2 separate regions of the Homo sapiens genome follow, and region 1 is linked to region 2. Evidence: promoter capture Hi-C in 16 types of primary human blood cells and fetal thymus (Javierre and others, 2016). All regions are on one chromosome and are shown on one strand. Each heading gives the region's core, a stretch centred on a gene start or on the middle of the fragment in contact. The rest is flanking DNA. Distances are from core to core; before and after follow the strand shown. Region 1 has its middle 6.4 kb from the start of TRY-GTA5-1. Region 2 holds the start of ARFGEF1 (ARF guanine nucleotide exchange factor 1).

Region 1 (7,432 bases), core at 4,375-6,874, 1.2 Mb before region 2:
ACTTGGCTAAGAACACCTAGCTATGGAGTAGAGCAGGCTGGTCCTGAGGCCACAATATTAACAGCTGCACTATATAGCCTCTCCAGGATGACCTTGTGTTTCCAACTACATTTGTTCTTGAACATGAATCCTAGTCTCTTCCCCACTCCCCATCCAACTCTTTCCCAGAGTTCTCTGACTTTCAAGAGAATATACTCACTGTGTCACTCCCTTTATTAACTACCTTTCTCTTCAACTGCCCTTTGCAGCTCAAGGAGATTCCCCTAAGAAATCTTCCTTGTTAATTCCCTGTGACTTCCTCAAGAGCAAATCTGAAGGCTTCCTATATCTCTTACTTCACTCCCACTCCTTCCCCTTCCCCTTTTTCTTCCTCTCCCCGCTCCCCGCCACCCCAGCACTTCCTTATTTGGGAGATCTCTGTGGTCTTAGCAGCTATGTCTTTACCACCTTCTCTTCTCTGACTAACCCATAACTGCAACCCTAATCAAGTGAAAAGTTGGATTTTTAAAAAATTTTCAAAGTGATTCTAGAGCAGCTGGTTCTAATAATTGTGATTTTAAAAATTCTGATACATAACTTCCTGACATAATTTTCCAGGATGTTTAGATAGTGCCGAGAAAACTTTTAAAGATAAAATAGCAAACATATGTTGTGCTTACTATGTGCCAGACACGATTCTAGCTGCTTAATATAAGTTAACTCATGTAATTCACACAGCAACCCTATGAGGTAGGCACAATTACTATTTCCCATTTCACAGATGGGAAAATTGGGCAGCAGAGAGTCATTAATTAACTCAGGCTGTTAATAATGGGAGAGCCAGCATTTGAACTCAGCTAGTCTGGTTGTAGCATCTGTCTGCTTAATTACTATGCCACCTTGGTGCCCTAAGACATATCTGAATTCTGTAAACTTGGATTTACAACTGCTTATTTAATGTCAAAATAGTGTATACATTGAGTATGTTCTAATTTGTCCCTCTCACCAAAAGTGGATACCATAAGCTTATAAATCCAAGTTAATACAATTTGCTCTATTATTCTGAGTCCATAAGATTGGGGTGGGAACATTTGTTACTATATATAAAAATAAGGCATCTTAATATCACTCATACAATTAGAAGTAAAATATTTTCATGTTATCCATTCATAATAAAAGTGAAATTCTACCCAATTTCTCCATTGTACAAAATATGATACAAATTATGAAGTAAAAATATACCATTGAATCTGCCAGACTACTAAATTAGCAATGCTTTATTATTTTTCATAGTATTATACAAAGGAAATACAATTTGCAAATTTTTAAAAAGAACTTTGTTGCCATTTAAAATAAAGAACGTGTGTATGTTCATGTGTATGAATACATTTGTGTGTGTATATGTGTATGAATATATGTGTGTGGTGTGTGCATGTGTGTATATATACATAGATGTCTATATACCATAAGCAATTTATTTTGCTTCCGGTCATCTGTGTCATTTTGCCATTATAGGAAGCACAACACCTGCCACACTCCTGCTCTACTGTGCTTTATTTTTCTCTTTGGCATTCATTACTGTACAGCCTACTGTATATATTATTTATTGTCTTCTTATTGTCTATTTACCCTTCCAGAATGTGTGCTTCACCAAGATAGAGATTTCTGTCTGCTTTGCTTACTGCTGTATCCTTATCCTCAGCTCTAGAACAATGCCTAGCACATAGTACAGACTAAATAAACATTTAAATAAAAGAATAAATGTGAGTCTCTGAAGAAAACCTCCTGGCCACACCCTCCCACCACCACCAATCATACCTTTCGGAAAGATGCTGTATGAGCAAGATGATGCTCCCACTTCCCCGAGCATGGAAGACTGCAAGTGAGCTTTCAGGACTTACAGAGCCCTGGGAATGAGATGGGTTGGCCTTGCCATCTCCCAGTAGTACAAATGTTAACCCCCTTCAAAGGGGAGGTAGGCTGGGGCTTGGTCTCATTAAATATCTTTTGATGTAGTGATTTGGCATATAATTCAGGATTGCATTTGGGTGAATAATGCAGTCAATCTTCATTCCATATTTGTGGAGTTACCTACCTAGAAGAGGACAAACTTTCTTTACACAAACTGTAGGGGAGGAAATACTTCCTTCTGTCATCTTAGGTTCTGTGGCTGGGCCTAAGAATTAAACGATAATAGCATAAAACATATTAACAGGAGAAAAGCATACGCATCTTATTTAATATTTATATGTCCATGGAAGTCTTTATAAGAAAAATGAAGACCCAAAGAAGACATTAGGTCCAAAAGCTTAAGTACCTTTTTAAACAAAGAATGATAAATATTAGGGATGTGGCAAGACAAAGGGGCTTGGTCTGGGTATAGTAGACTGTGGGGTTGTGAGTGGCCAGGGGCATTGTTCAATATCAAAGAATTTTTTTAAAAGATAGTACCTTACTGGCAAGGTACTTCCTGACTTCAAGGATAAAGCATGGATGGAAGCAATCCAGAGAAAGGGTTCTCATTGTCCAGGCCTTCTTGTTGTGCAACCAAAAGACTGGCTGCTGGTGTTTTATCTTTTTCCTTCAAGGCTTGGTTGTTAGCAGCTTCACAGATAAGGGCAGTCTGACTCATAAACCCAATGGCGTTTGCACAAAACAGTAGAGGTAGCCTATCCCTTCCTGCCTTAAATCTTGGGGCTCACTTCTCATCCCTACTAATACATGTCCTTTGTGACATTTTTTTTTCCCAGAATAGGGCATTGTCATCTGCATTAAATACCATTCAGGCAGATCTCTTTTCTCCTCAATGATTTTCTTAATGACATCCAGAAATTCACCTGCTGCCTCTTGGTCAGGAAGCTGCTCTTGTTATCTTGACATTTTTAAAGCCAAAACTGCTTTCTAAAATTATCAAACCTTCCTTTGCTGGCATTAAATTCTCCAGCTTTAGACCCTTCCCCTTCCTTTTGCCTTAAGTTGTCATATAATGACTTTGTTTTTTCTGGAATTATATTAGAGTCTATAGGTATGTCTTTCTTAGAGCAATTCCGTACCCATGTAAAAGCTGCATTTTCAATACAAGATAAAGAGGTTTTTGGCAAAACGTGCAAGGGTTTCATGCCTGCTAGCCAGCTGTAGTGACGGCTTCACAAAGGTCCTTACACTGGATTCATTTATCTTGAAATGCCTGGCAACCACAGCTGTAGACCTCAATCTATGGTCCATATTAAGCAATTCAACTTTTTCTTTTTGGATCAAGACTTTTCTCTGCTTCTTGGGAGCATATCCAGCATCATGAGTGGCACTTCGTATGGGTCCTGTGGTGTTATTCAAGGTTTGTGGTATTTCACTACAATTAAAAAATCCTCGAGACCCACAAGAGATCACTTTTTACTGCCACAGGCAATTTGCTGGAGAGACAAACTGCTCATAGGGAGATTATTAAAGTCACGTACATGGCATTTTAAGCAGATATTCGAAATACTTGAGGTCACCACAGTAGCAATGGGAGGTGGCTATGAAATTATCACAGTAGTACAGTATGTACTATGGTTAATTTTATGCAGCTGTGATTTAATATTGCATCTTTATGTTTATTCACATTTCTTTTAACTGTGCATGGTGCCATGTACAATTTGGGTTTGTATAAGTTTTGAGAAATTTTAACTTCTTAAAATTTTATGGTAATACATGACAAAATAGACTACTATCTACATATATTTCATGCATTCATGATATACCTTTGTCTTAATTTTTTAATATTTGTAGGCTATTTGGCTCATGTCAAGTTTTTTCAAATTGTTGCAGATCTCCAAAAAAATTTCCAATATATTCATTGAAAAAAATCTATGTATGAATGGACCTACCCAGTTTAAATTCTTGTTTTTCAAGGATCAACTGTATTAAATAAGGTGTCCTTCAACAGAAACACACATAAAACAAGATTATCCATTGATCAGTTGACAAAAACATTATGGCCAGAGCCTCCGTTTATTTCCCCTGGGAGCAATGTTTTCAGCATTCACTAAATCAGAGTTCAAAATGACTTTATACAATGTAATTACACGAATAATGAGAATCAAGTGTACCTTCCCTGGAATTCCCCAGAATAGTTCCCTTTCTGACCTAGAAACAACATCTCTGTGGTTTCTCACAAATATCCTTCTTGGAGATGGTGCATATTTAGAGAAAACCATGGATAAGTCAGTAAGCCTGAATACAGCCTTGCTCCCCTAATCTGGATGGTCATCCTAAAGACATTGTTTAATCTTTCTGGGTAGAGCTTCCTGATCTGTAGAATGGTTTCCTTGACTGAAAGGAAAAACTTGAAAGCTCTTTAGTGCACATATGTCTAAGGAATAATTTTTCAAATAAACAATGGCTTTTTTTTTTCACATTTCACGGAGTCTTGACACACCTCCTTGGAGCACTGCTGTTAACAAATTTAAGGGATTTCACCTTTGGATTTAGAGGTGAGAAGAGAATAACCTTTAATAGATGAAACGCTTTTCTACTCCCAGAATGTCCATTTTCTGACCGTACTGGCATCAGAACCTGCCTTTCAACCTCCTTCCTCCCAGAGTAGCAGCTGCCAGCCCAATATCCCTAACCCAAGTGTCCATCTGAGGACAGAGAGACCAAGCAGTGCTACAGAAAGCCCTGGCTGTGATTCAGGAGGCCTAAGATCTCATATGCCACTTCTCCCCTCTGTTACCTTGGATAAGTCATTTCACATATTTGGGCCTCAGTTTCTTCATTCTTAAGCAATTTTTATTACAGAATATCTATAATTAGATGACAATTATGGGACACTCTGACCCATACGTGTTATGTAAAATAACTTACATATGGTTAAACAAAAATGTAATGATGTCAAAAAATGCAGAAACAAAAGCAAATTTCTTCACCATCCCCATATAGTTTGTTAGGGCTATCATAACAAAATATCACAGACTGGGTGGCTTTTAAAAAGATAAATTTGTTTTCTCACACTTCTAGAGGCTAGAAGTCTAAGCTCAAGGTATTGGCAGGTTTGGTTTCTTCTGAGACCTCTCTCCGTGGCTTGTAGATGGCCGTCTTCTCCCTGCGTCTTCCTGTAGCCTTCTCTCTATGCATGCATGTGCCTGCTGTCTCTGTATTCTGTTCTCCTTATAAGGACACCAGTTGTATTGGATCAGGGTGCACCCTAATGACCTCATTTTTGCTTAATTACCTCTTTAAAGGCCTTATCTCCAAATACAGTCACATTCTGAAGTACTAGGGGTTAGGTCTTCAACAAATAAATTGGGGTGGGGAGGGAAGACAGAACACAATTCAGCCCAACAACAAGCATGCCATCAATTTCTCAAAATTGTGCCATATTTCAGTTTGCTTTATATTTGAACCACGTATTTTTTATAAAGTTTTTTTTTGTTTTTTTGTTTTTTTTAGAAATCCCTGAGTATCTTCGTTCTGTCTTTTTGAGAAAAGTGACATGTGCCTTTATCATATCTCTAAGGTCTCCCAGATCCTTAATCACACTACTATTGTAAAAGAATCCGCTTCTTTTTGAAAAATAAACTTCCCAGAGCCCTCTAACTTTTTTTTCCTCCCCTTAATTTGTCCTGATTGCTTTCTTTGCCAGCTGCATCACTGTCAACCTGAGATTTTCTTTTCATTGAGTCCCTGGGTTGGTTTCCTTTTTTCTTAAATCCTGTGTACTCCTCCTTCTTGGATTCTTACTTTGCTTTGCTGAAGTACATCCATGGCATACACAGAGACATGCTGCTAGACTGCCTTTCAAGAAAGAACTCACTGCCCAGCTGCAAGGAGGATGGTTAACTAGTAGCCATCAGGTGTTAACTCCTCTAGCCAAGGTTCTAAGCCTCTGGCCAATGACTGAGCAAGGTGGTGATGCTAGGGCCCCACCATTTCTGCCCAACTTGAGACTCCTCCAAAAGGAAATCTTTGCTCTGGAGCCACCAAGAGGGTTGGCAGAAACTTTGTCGGGTCTGCATCACTGTCTAATGACTACCCCTACCCAATCCTGTGTCCTCCCCTTTTCCATTCACAGATGTTACTCCCCTGTAAAATGTTGTGCTCTAATTCTGCATGAGCTTCAGCTTACTGGAGAACCCATCCAGTACAACATCCTCAAATAATGTTTACTTACTTTTTATTTGTTTCAGAGAGGAATCATAGATTTAAACTTTATGAGACCTTGCAACTATGAACTATTAGTCCTCATATGTGATTGCTACTTTGATTGGCATACAATTCTAGGCTTAAAATTATTTCTTTGCAGAGCTTTGAAGGCCATGCTCAACTGTCTTCTAGCATCCAGTAATGATGATGAGAAGTCTGATCATAATCCAATTCTTATTCCTTTGTAGCTAGCCTAGTTCTTGTTTAGATTTTGCTTTGTTTTCCTCCATCTCTGAAAGTTACAGGGTTTCATCTTTATCCTCAATGCTTTTGAATGTCACTAGGCTGTGTCCAGGCATGGTTATTTTTCATTCATCCTAACTTGCATGATCCTTTCCATCTGATGACCAATGTCTTTCTTTTATTCTTACCCCTGCATTGTCTCTGTTTTCTCTTTCTGGAGCTCATATTAGATACTCTTTATGTCTTCAGGATCTATCTTTTCTTTTTTTTTTCTTTTCTATCTTTTTTTTGGTGTGTGTGTGTGTGTGTGTGTGTGTGTGTGTGTGTGTGTATAACCAGATCTCACTCTGTCCCAGGAGCTGGAGTGCAATGGTGCAATCAATCATAGCCCGCAGCAGCTTTGAACTCCTGGGCTCAAGAGATCCTTCTGCCTCAGCCTCCCAAGTAGCTGGGACTACAGGTAAACACCACCATGTCTAGCTAATTTTCGTATCTTTTGTAGAGATGGGGGTCTTGCTTTGTTGCCCAGGCTGGTCCCAAACTCTTAGCTTCAAGCAATCCTCCCGCCCTGGCCTCCCAAAGTACTGGAATGACAGGGGTGAGCCACTGTACCCAGTGTCATGTTTTTATTTTTTGCTTTCCATGGTCTGATGTCCTGGGATATATTTTCCATTCTATCTTCTATATCTTCATAGCTGATCTTTAGCCATGACCAGTATGTTACTTTTCACCTTAGCAATCATACTTTTAGTATTCAGGAACTCTCTTCTTCCCTAGTTGCTCCTGTTAATATCACTGTATTTTGGTTTTCATTGCTGTAACTCTCTCTTGGATGTCCTTGAGGATATCCCTAACTACTTTTTTGTTAAATAGTTCTGTTCTATTCTTTGCATTATTTGTTTTCTCCTCGGTCATTTATTTAACTTGTTCATCTTGGACTTTCTTTTTGAAGTTGTTGTTATTTCCTCCCAAATGTCTGGTAAACATAACGTGTCCTTCATGATACATTGCTATCTGTAAAAATGGCTGTGTCCTGCGGACTATCAGGCTTTGCATTTATGGTGCATGAGTGGAGAACAGCCATGCT
Region 2 (7,114 bases), core at 2,345-4,844:
TTAAATGTCTGACATACTATGTATTTTCCTGTTAACTGTCCATCTCCCTTCAGCTGTATGCTCAATAAATATTTGGGGAAAGAATGAAGACAGACAGGTGGGTATTTAGAAGGGTTATAACACCACCCACAAAATGATCTCTGTATCTTCACCATCCAACACCTACCCACTCACAATCTATAGAACCGAGAGGACTAAATCAGGCCTTTTCAGTTTGCTTTCCCATCCTGCTTAATGGCCACATAGATTACCAACAGACCAGAGCGGGCCTGGCCCAGGTCTCAATAGTGAAGTGGAGAAGATAAGTCTCTAACGGTCTTCAAGGACAATACATTTGTGGGAATACCATCTTCCTGCAAAATATACTTTCTGCAAAGACAAAATGAGTTATGCTTATCAATTTATGTTTGGGTGGTGATGTAGATAGACTGCAAGGGAAGAAACAAAGTTCACCAGGGATTAGCTACCATGAGATTACTGAGATTTTGCTTTGTTGGAGGCTAAATGTAACTTTACGAAATGTGGGAAAAAATGCCTCATACATCTCAAGTAAATAAAGTACTGTGGTGCCTAGCCCTTCCCTGGATAGTCACATTCCTCGTAACAAGCTTCTATTGAGTATACAGAAGGGACAAAAAAGTAAAAACTGTCAAAATCTGGAATAGACAACCCTGGTACAGTTGGCACACATATCAAGTAATCCCGACCTCCAGAAATGGCAAGGACCATTTAGAGCGCTATAGGCCCTCTAAAGATGATGCTCATGAGTGGTAGGGAATACCCAATGCACGAGTTAACAGGACAGTGCAATCACATTTATGGCACATTAGAGGAGATGTGACCATACAATCATTAAGTTCAATACCCTAATTTTACAGAGAACTTAAGGCCCAGGGACTTGCCTAATACTACAACGTAACAGAACTGGGATTTAAACCTAGGATCTCAGACTCTCATTCCAGTAGGCTCTCCATTAAAATATGCTTACTTATGTTACTACTTTGGAGAAGGAAAATATATACATACACACAACACACTCCATTTCTTCAGTTTGATACTTACAATTTAATGTATTAAAAATATGTTGTAACATGAAAAATCTGAATTATAAAAAATTAAGGCCAGGAGAGGTAGCTCATGCCTATAAACTCAGCACTTTGGGAGGCCAAGGTGGGAGGCTCTCTTCAGCCCAGATTTGGAGACCAGCCTGGGCGATATAGAGAGACCGCCATCTCCACCAAAAAAAAAAAAAAAAAAAAAAAATTAGCCAGGTGTGGTGGTGTGCCTGAAGTCCCAATTACTTGGGAGGCTGAGGCAGGAGGAATGCCTGATCCTGGGAGTTTGAGGCGGCACTGAGCACTGATTGTGTCACTGCGCTTCAGTCTGGGTGACAGAGCAAGCCCCTGTCTCAAAAAACAAACAAAAATTTAAAACTTTAATTTGAATCTCTCTAAAGTTCTTCAACCTTCAAGTAATTTACAAACCTACATATAACAATTCTTTTAAAAATCCTGAAATCACTTTCTCCCCAGTCTCACTCCAATTTAATATTATTCCTTTCAGGATCTAGATATAAATACAGTTTTTGCCACTAGACAACTGTCTTCTCATACACCGGGAACAGTCTTTTGTTAGCTACAAAAATAACAAAATGCAAACTTCTGGTCGATAAGTAAGGTGAAAAAATAATCTTAAGCCCCTAATACTACACATTCAAATGTTTTAAGATGAAATTTCTTCGACGTTTTTCATATTACCAATTTTAACGATCTAGGAAAAAAAAACTACAGTATATTACAGCAAATTAAATGGTAGTCTTCCATTTAATAATTAAAAGCTAATTTTAAGTTGTCTAGACTCCTTAACTCTAGCATACTTTAAGTTATTGTGGATTTTTCCCCTTTCAAGAATGCTTTTTTGTAAAGCCCATTTAACAAGCTTCCTTTTCTTGCCAATTTGACCTAGTGTATTTCCAGTGCTATAAAGTGTAAACATTAGGAATGTATCTTTGTGTTAAATGTTCTGGTCTCTCAAACGATTTCAACTTTGATGGATGCAATAGATCTAACAATGTTCCCCCTTTAACAACTCCTCATCTGCCTAACCTCATAGGTAGGAGGTATTGTTTGGATTTTCCCTGCTGCGGGCTTCATTACACTAGATCTCTTCCATCTGAACTATAAATCACAATTCAAGCTTGAGAGCAGCTGCCACTGTCCAGACATGTGGCTGGTGGGTGTCATTGTCTTTTTCATTTTCCTCATTTCAAACCCTCCCTTCCCTTGTCACCTAAAGCCATTTTATCTAAAGGTTCTTTGCTTCCCTGCTTTCATGCCGCCACCCCCACCCTCACCCCTTAACCACCGGTCTTGTTCTTCCAGGTCAGCCCAGTCAGATACAATATTACTCTATGTTTTTCCTGTGGCGGAGGCGGAGAGATGTCAGAACGGGCTGCACCTCTTGCAAACCCCTTCTCAAGACTGTCAACAAGGAAACAACTTCAGCAGCCTATCTCCCCAAAGTACCTCGCCAAACGAAAAAGTTATTGTTAATTATGATACGGAACCTTTCCCACACCCAATCTTGACATACCAGCCCCACCTCAATTTCCAAGCTAATAAACAACAGCTCATCTTCTGCTTCATCACAAAGGGTGGTATCCAGTCCGCACCTCACGGACCACCAACAAAATCCTCTCACTCTCAAGTCGATCCCTCGAACCCAGGTGCCCCGCGATCCTAAGCCCTGCCGCGTTTCCCGAGCCCAGCTCACTGCCCTTCCTCCTCTACCCCGCCTCTGCCCCACATCCAGCCGAGTTCCTGTCAACTCCAGACAGGGAACAGAGGGCTCCGCGAGGGCTTCCCGAGGTCAGAGGCGCGGGCCTCGGGCAAGCCCCGGGCGACCCCACCCCCCCACAGGCGCCCCCCTCCCCGCCCCACAACAAGCACCCCATCCCCCGGGCCTCCTCCCCGCTCACCTAACGCCACCTCGCAAGCTTTGCGCAGCTGGGAGTGATGCGCCTTCTTCACTTCCTTGTCGGCCAATATCTTCTCCAGAGCCCGGGTCAGGAACATGTTCTTCGTCTTCTTCCCCTCATACATGGACGCAGAGAAGGAGGCGGCGGCTCGTCCGACCCGCGGCTCCCAGCGGCTGGAGGGGAGGAGGAGGAGAGGAAGGAAGAGAAGAGAGAAAGGAGAGGGGGTGGAGGTGGGGGATTGGAGGCGTGGAGGGCAGCGGCAGGATCAGGAAGGGGCGGGCGAGCGGGACCAGCCGCGGTGTCGGCGAAGGGCGTCGAGGTCCTCGCCGCCCCCAAGAAGCCGTACCTCGAGGGCCGCGCCCGTCGGGCCTCCGCTTCTCCCGGCCCGGGGGTCGCGTCCCGGCCGCCCCTCTCACTCGTCCCTCCGGCCCTGGTGGCGGTGAGGGAGCCCGGCCCGGGCGGCTGTCTGCCGGGAACTGAGGGACGAGGTGGCGGCGGCTCTCAGAGGCACCGCGAGAGAAGGGCTACCCTGGCTACTGTGGGGATTAGCACCCGCCGCGGCCGCGAACTGGCCCCCATCACCGCCGACCTGCCCCGGCCGCCATGTTGGGAGGAAACGACGCGTCACGCAGCGGCCGAACGGCTGCAGACGAGGAAGCGGCGGCGGCGGCGGCGGCGGCGGCGCTCCCTGCCCAGAGCTGCCGCGGCGCCGGGAGGCTGGGGGCGGAGGGCGGCGCGGGAGGAGCGGCCCGAGCCGCAGCGCTACGGCGGCCCGGCGGGGCCTCCAGCGTTCGCCTGCAGGGCGGCGTGGGGCGTGGCGGGCCTCTGGTGGCACCGCGCCCAGCACTTCGGGCTCTTGGTGGCGGCCGAGCTGCGGGACCAGAGATCCCCCCACTCGGCACCCCTGCTCCTGCCGAGTGAACAGGACTCCTGGCTACTCTGCACTGGCTTTCTAACTTTCTGATGGGGGTGCAGTCCTTTGCATTCCAGGGGTCACAGCAACACCCGCATCGCCCGTTCTCAGCCGCAGGGTCTCCGCCTGCATCACTCGACTCTAAAATTTCCTTCCCTAGTGCACGGAACTGCTGTCCAGGACTCTGCTCTCCGACTACCTCAGGGAGGATTCTGTTTTGGGAAAAGTAAGCCAAAACCTATTGATAAGGGTTCAAAAATGTTTCACTTTTTTCTCTCTCTGTCGGATAAATCGGTCAACTCTAGATTTCAGGTCCCTTCTGAATTGACTCAGTTAAGGTGAATGGTTGTGAATGAGGTCCCTTAGAGTTCTGTGTTTCTGTGCCTTTAATACTAAGATTTAGTCCAGGACATGTAAACCAGTTTAGAATGGAAAAGCTTTAAGTACAAACAGATTAACACACGTGACCATGTGTTTGCTTTAGTCTGAGTGTAGAACTCAAATTTCTGCAGTATTTAATTTCTACAGTTTCCTTCTGAGCAGAAAAAGAATACCATAAAAATATTTGCAAACATTATATATGGTGATCTAGGGTCACGTCTCCAAGTTCTAAGCTTCTGTGGCTCCACGCACACAGGTTCCCTAATGTTTACTATGCATCTGTCACTGTTCTGTTCTATTAGATTGCCTTAACTATAGGCTTGTCCTAACGTAACCATCCAAACCTAAGGAAGGAGAAACTTAAGTGACTCTGTGAACTTAGTGAAGTGACCAGATTTAGGAAGGCTAAAACCCAGAGGAAATAAAATGGAAAACTTGAAGGTGACAAATTAAAGTGGAAAAATAGATTAATTTTTTTAAACTTTATTGTCCTGAGAAACAAATCTATAAATTCATTAATTTTATTTTAGAGACTATCTCTAGATTCCTGGAAATGAAGGATTCATTATACTCTTAGATCAGATATAATACTGATTTCTGTGTATACGTTAATAAACTTTTTTAGAACAAGTTCCATTTCTTTTATTTTTTTCTTCCCTTCTTTCACAGGTGTTGATCCATTTCTAATTCATCTTTGTTTCTTCATAATGGAGTGTTGTGCCAGGTACTGTTGAGGGTACTAGCTGATCACCAAACCCATTTACTCTTCTTTCTTAGTATAGAATTGCATTGTCCAGCCTCCCTTGAAGTTAGGTGTAGCCATCCAGGCTTAACCTATTGTTAAAAAACCAACAAGAAATTCCCACAAGCAATCTTTCATGCTGTTTCCCTTTTTTTTTTTTTTCTTTTGGTAGAGATGGCATCTCACCATGTTGAACTCGTGGCCTCAAGCGATCCTCCTGCCTCAGCCTCCCAGTGCTGAGATTACAGGCATAAGCCACCATGCCCAGTCTCTCTTTTCCCTTCTATGGCCACAGCTGAAGATGGCAGAACCACAAGTTAGGAGTCTTAGTTTCTGAATTGGAACTCTTGGAGAAGAACCATCTAGAATAACTATTTTGTACTTTACATGAACGAAGCAGACTCTTCGGTTATGTTTAGCTGTCAGCTTTATCGTAAAACATACTTGGGATTCATTGATGAACAAGACAAGCTGGCACCTGTAGTCCCAGCACTTTGGGAGGCCAAGGCAGGAGAATGGCTTGAGGCCGGGATTTGCAGATGAAACTGGGCAACGTAGCAAGACACTGTCTTTACAAAAAATAAAGAAAAATTAGCCAGGCACGGTGGCATCCACCTGTAGTTGCAGCTGCTCAGGAGACTGAGGAGGAAGGATCGCTTGAGCTCAGGAGTTCGAGGCTGCAGTGAACTATGATATGATAGTGCCACAGCATTCATAATCATCTCATCTGCTTGCCTTGCTTGTTGATTGGTTGCATGTTTCTCTCATAAGTGCAGGGACCTCATATCTCTGTCTATTCACTTCTGTGTGCCCATCATCTATTATATTGCTGGCATAGAGAAGGCCTTTGCTATAAACTTATAGAAACTTGGATAAATGAAAGGCACCAGGCTAAGACAAGCATGATACCTGCCCTTTTGGACCTTACAGTATAGAGTAGGGAAAAGATATTAAGTCAGTAGTGAATATACAATTACAAATCTGTTGAGTATGATTAAAGAATAGAGTGCTGTGAGAGAAGGGAGAAGTAAATTAAATTGAGACCTGAAAGAAGAGTAGACATTAGCCAAACTAAGTCATGAAGAACTTTCCAGGCAAAGTCTCTTGGGGTAGGGGGAAGCTTGGCAAGTTTCAGGAAACAAAACAAGGCAGTGTGGCTGAAAGGATCAAGGAGAATGGTGCCAGTCAGGATGAAGAGGGAGCTAGGAACCAGATCATTCAGACTCTCGTAGGCCATGTTAGGGGGTTGCAATTTCATCGTAATAACAATGGAAATTCATTGAAAGGTTTTAAAAGTGGGGGATAAAGTGATCAAATTGGTGATTTTAAAATAATCCCTCTGTTACATGGAGAATGGATTGGAGGGGGAGAAGTGAGGATGTGGCAAAACATTTTAAGAAATTTATTACAACAGCGCAGGATGGCTTGGTCAGGTCCAGGGCCACCAAGCAAGGTTGTGGAGATCGTGGCACAAGGGAGCAAGTGTGGCTGAAATCCAGCCCCACTGTCTGCCCAAAAGAAGAGGCTTCTTTCACTAATTTGCATAAAGGTTAGCCCAGAAATGACAGTGGTAGCATGGAGATGGAGCAAAGTAGACAGATTTGGGATATACTTTGGTGGCAGAATAAACCGGACTTAATTAACTGGAGTGCAGGTTAGAGAGAGAAAGAGGTCACAAATGAATACCAGGTTTCTGCTGGGAACCAGTGAACAGTTGGAAATGCCATTTGTAGAGATAGGCTAGATGGAAGATTTGAGGGTAAAGAGTGTAGTTGTCAGTTTCAGAAGAATAAACTCCTCTGAGATATGACCTAACCCTCCCAGAAGGAATGATTTGCATCTTCCTTTGGGAGGACAACTCATCCTCTTCCCTTGCTGGGTTTACCCAAAAGGTGGTGGTGCTTGAGGGTGGAGGGGGGTAGGAGTAGTCTTACGAGATGGGCACTCCTATCCACTTGAAACTCAAGATACTAACTCAGACCTGTAGCAAAAATAGAGTAAGACTCTAGAATAAAGCTGATGCTCTTGGATATTTTCAATCTTTTATTGACAGGTACACAGGGAGTGGCAAAGGAGATTTTTACATGAAATTATGAGTACA

What was found. The method cuts DNA at HindIII sites, captures the fragments that hold promoters and counts their contacts. A CHiCAGO score of 5 or more calls a contact.
Region 1: a contact is called between a fragment that was not itself captured here and the fragment with the promoter of ARFGEF1 in region 2, in 4 of 17 cell types (non-activated CD4 T cells, total B cells, monocytes and 1 more). The highest score is 8.5, in non-activated CD4 T cells.

Annotation. Positions count from the first base shown.
Region 1 is chr8:66,103,288-66,110,719 of GRCh38, forward strand. No RefSeq gene overlaps it. Among named protein-coding and RNA genes, the nearest start is that of TRY-GTA5-1, 6.4 kb to the right of the region's middle. The HindIII fragment of the contact is 6,679 bases long and covers 2,286-7,432 here.
Region 2 is chr8:67,340,187-67,347,300 of GRCh38, forward strand. ARFGEF1 (ARF guanine nucleotide exchange factor 1) reads right to left here and starts at 3,595. Exons shown (of 39, transcript NM_006421.5): 1 at 2,978-3,595. The coding sequence starts at 3,101. ARFGEF1-DT (ARFGEF1 divergent transcript) reads left to right here and starts at 3,648. Exons shown (of 5, transcript NR_136224.1): 1 at 3,648-4,116. RefSeq lists an enhancer at 2,609-3,289 and silencers at 3,216-3,445, 3,626-3,885. The HindIII fragment of the contact is 1,332 bases long and covers 2,994-4,325 here.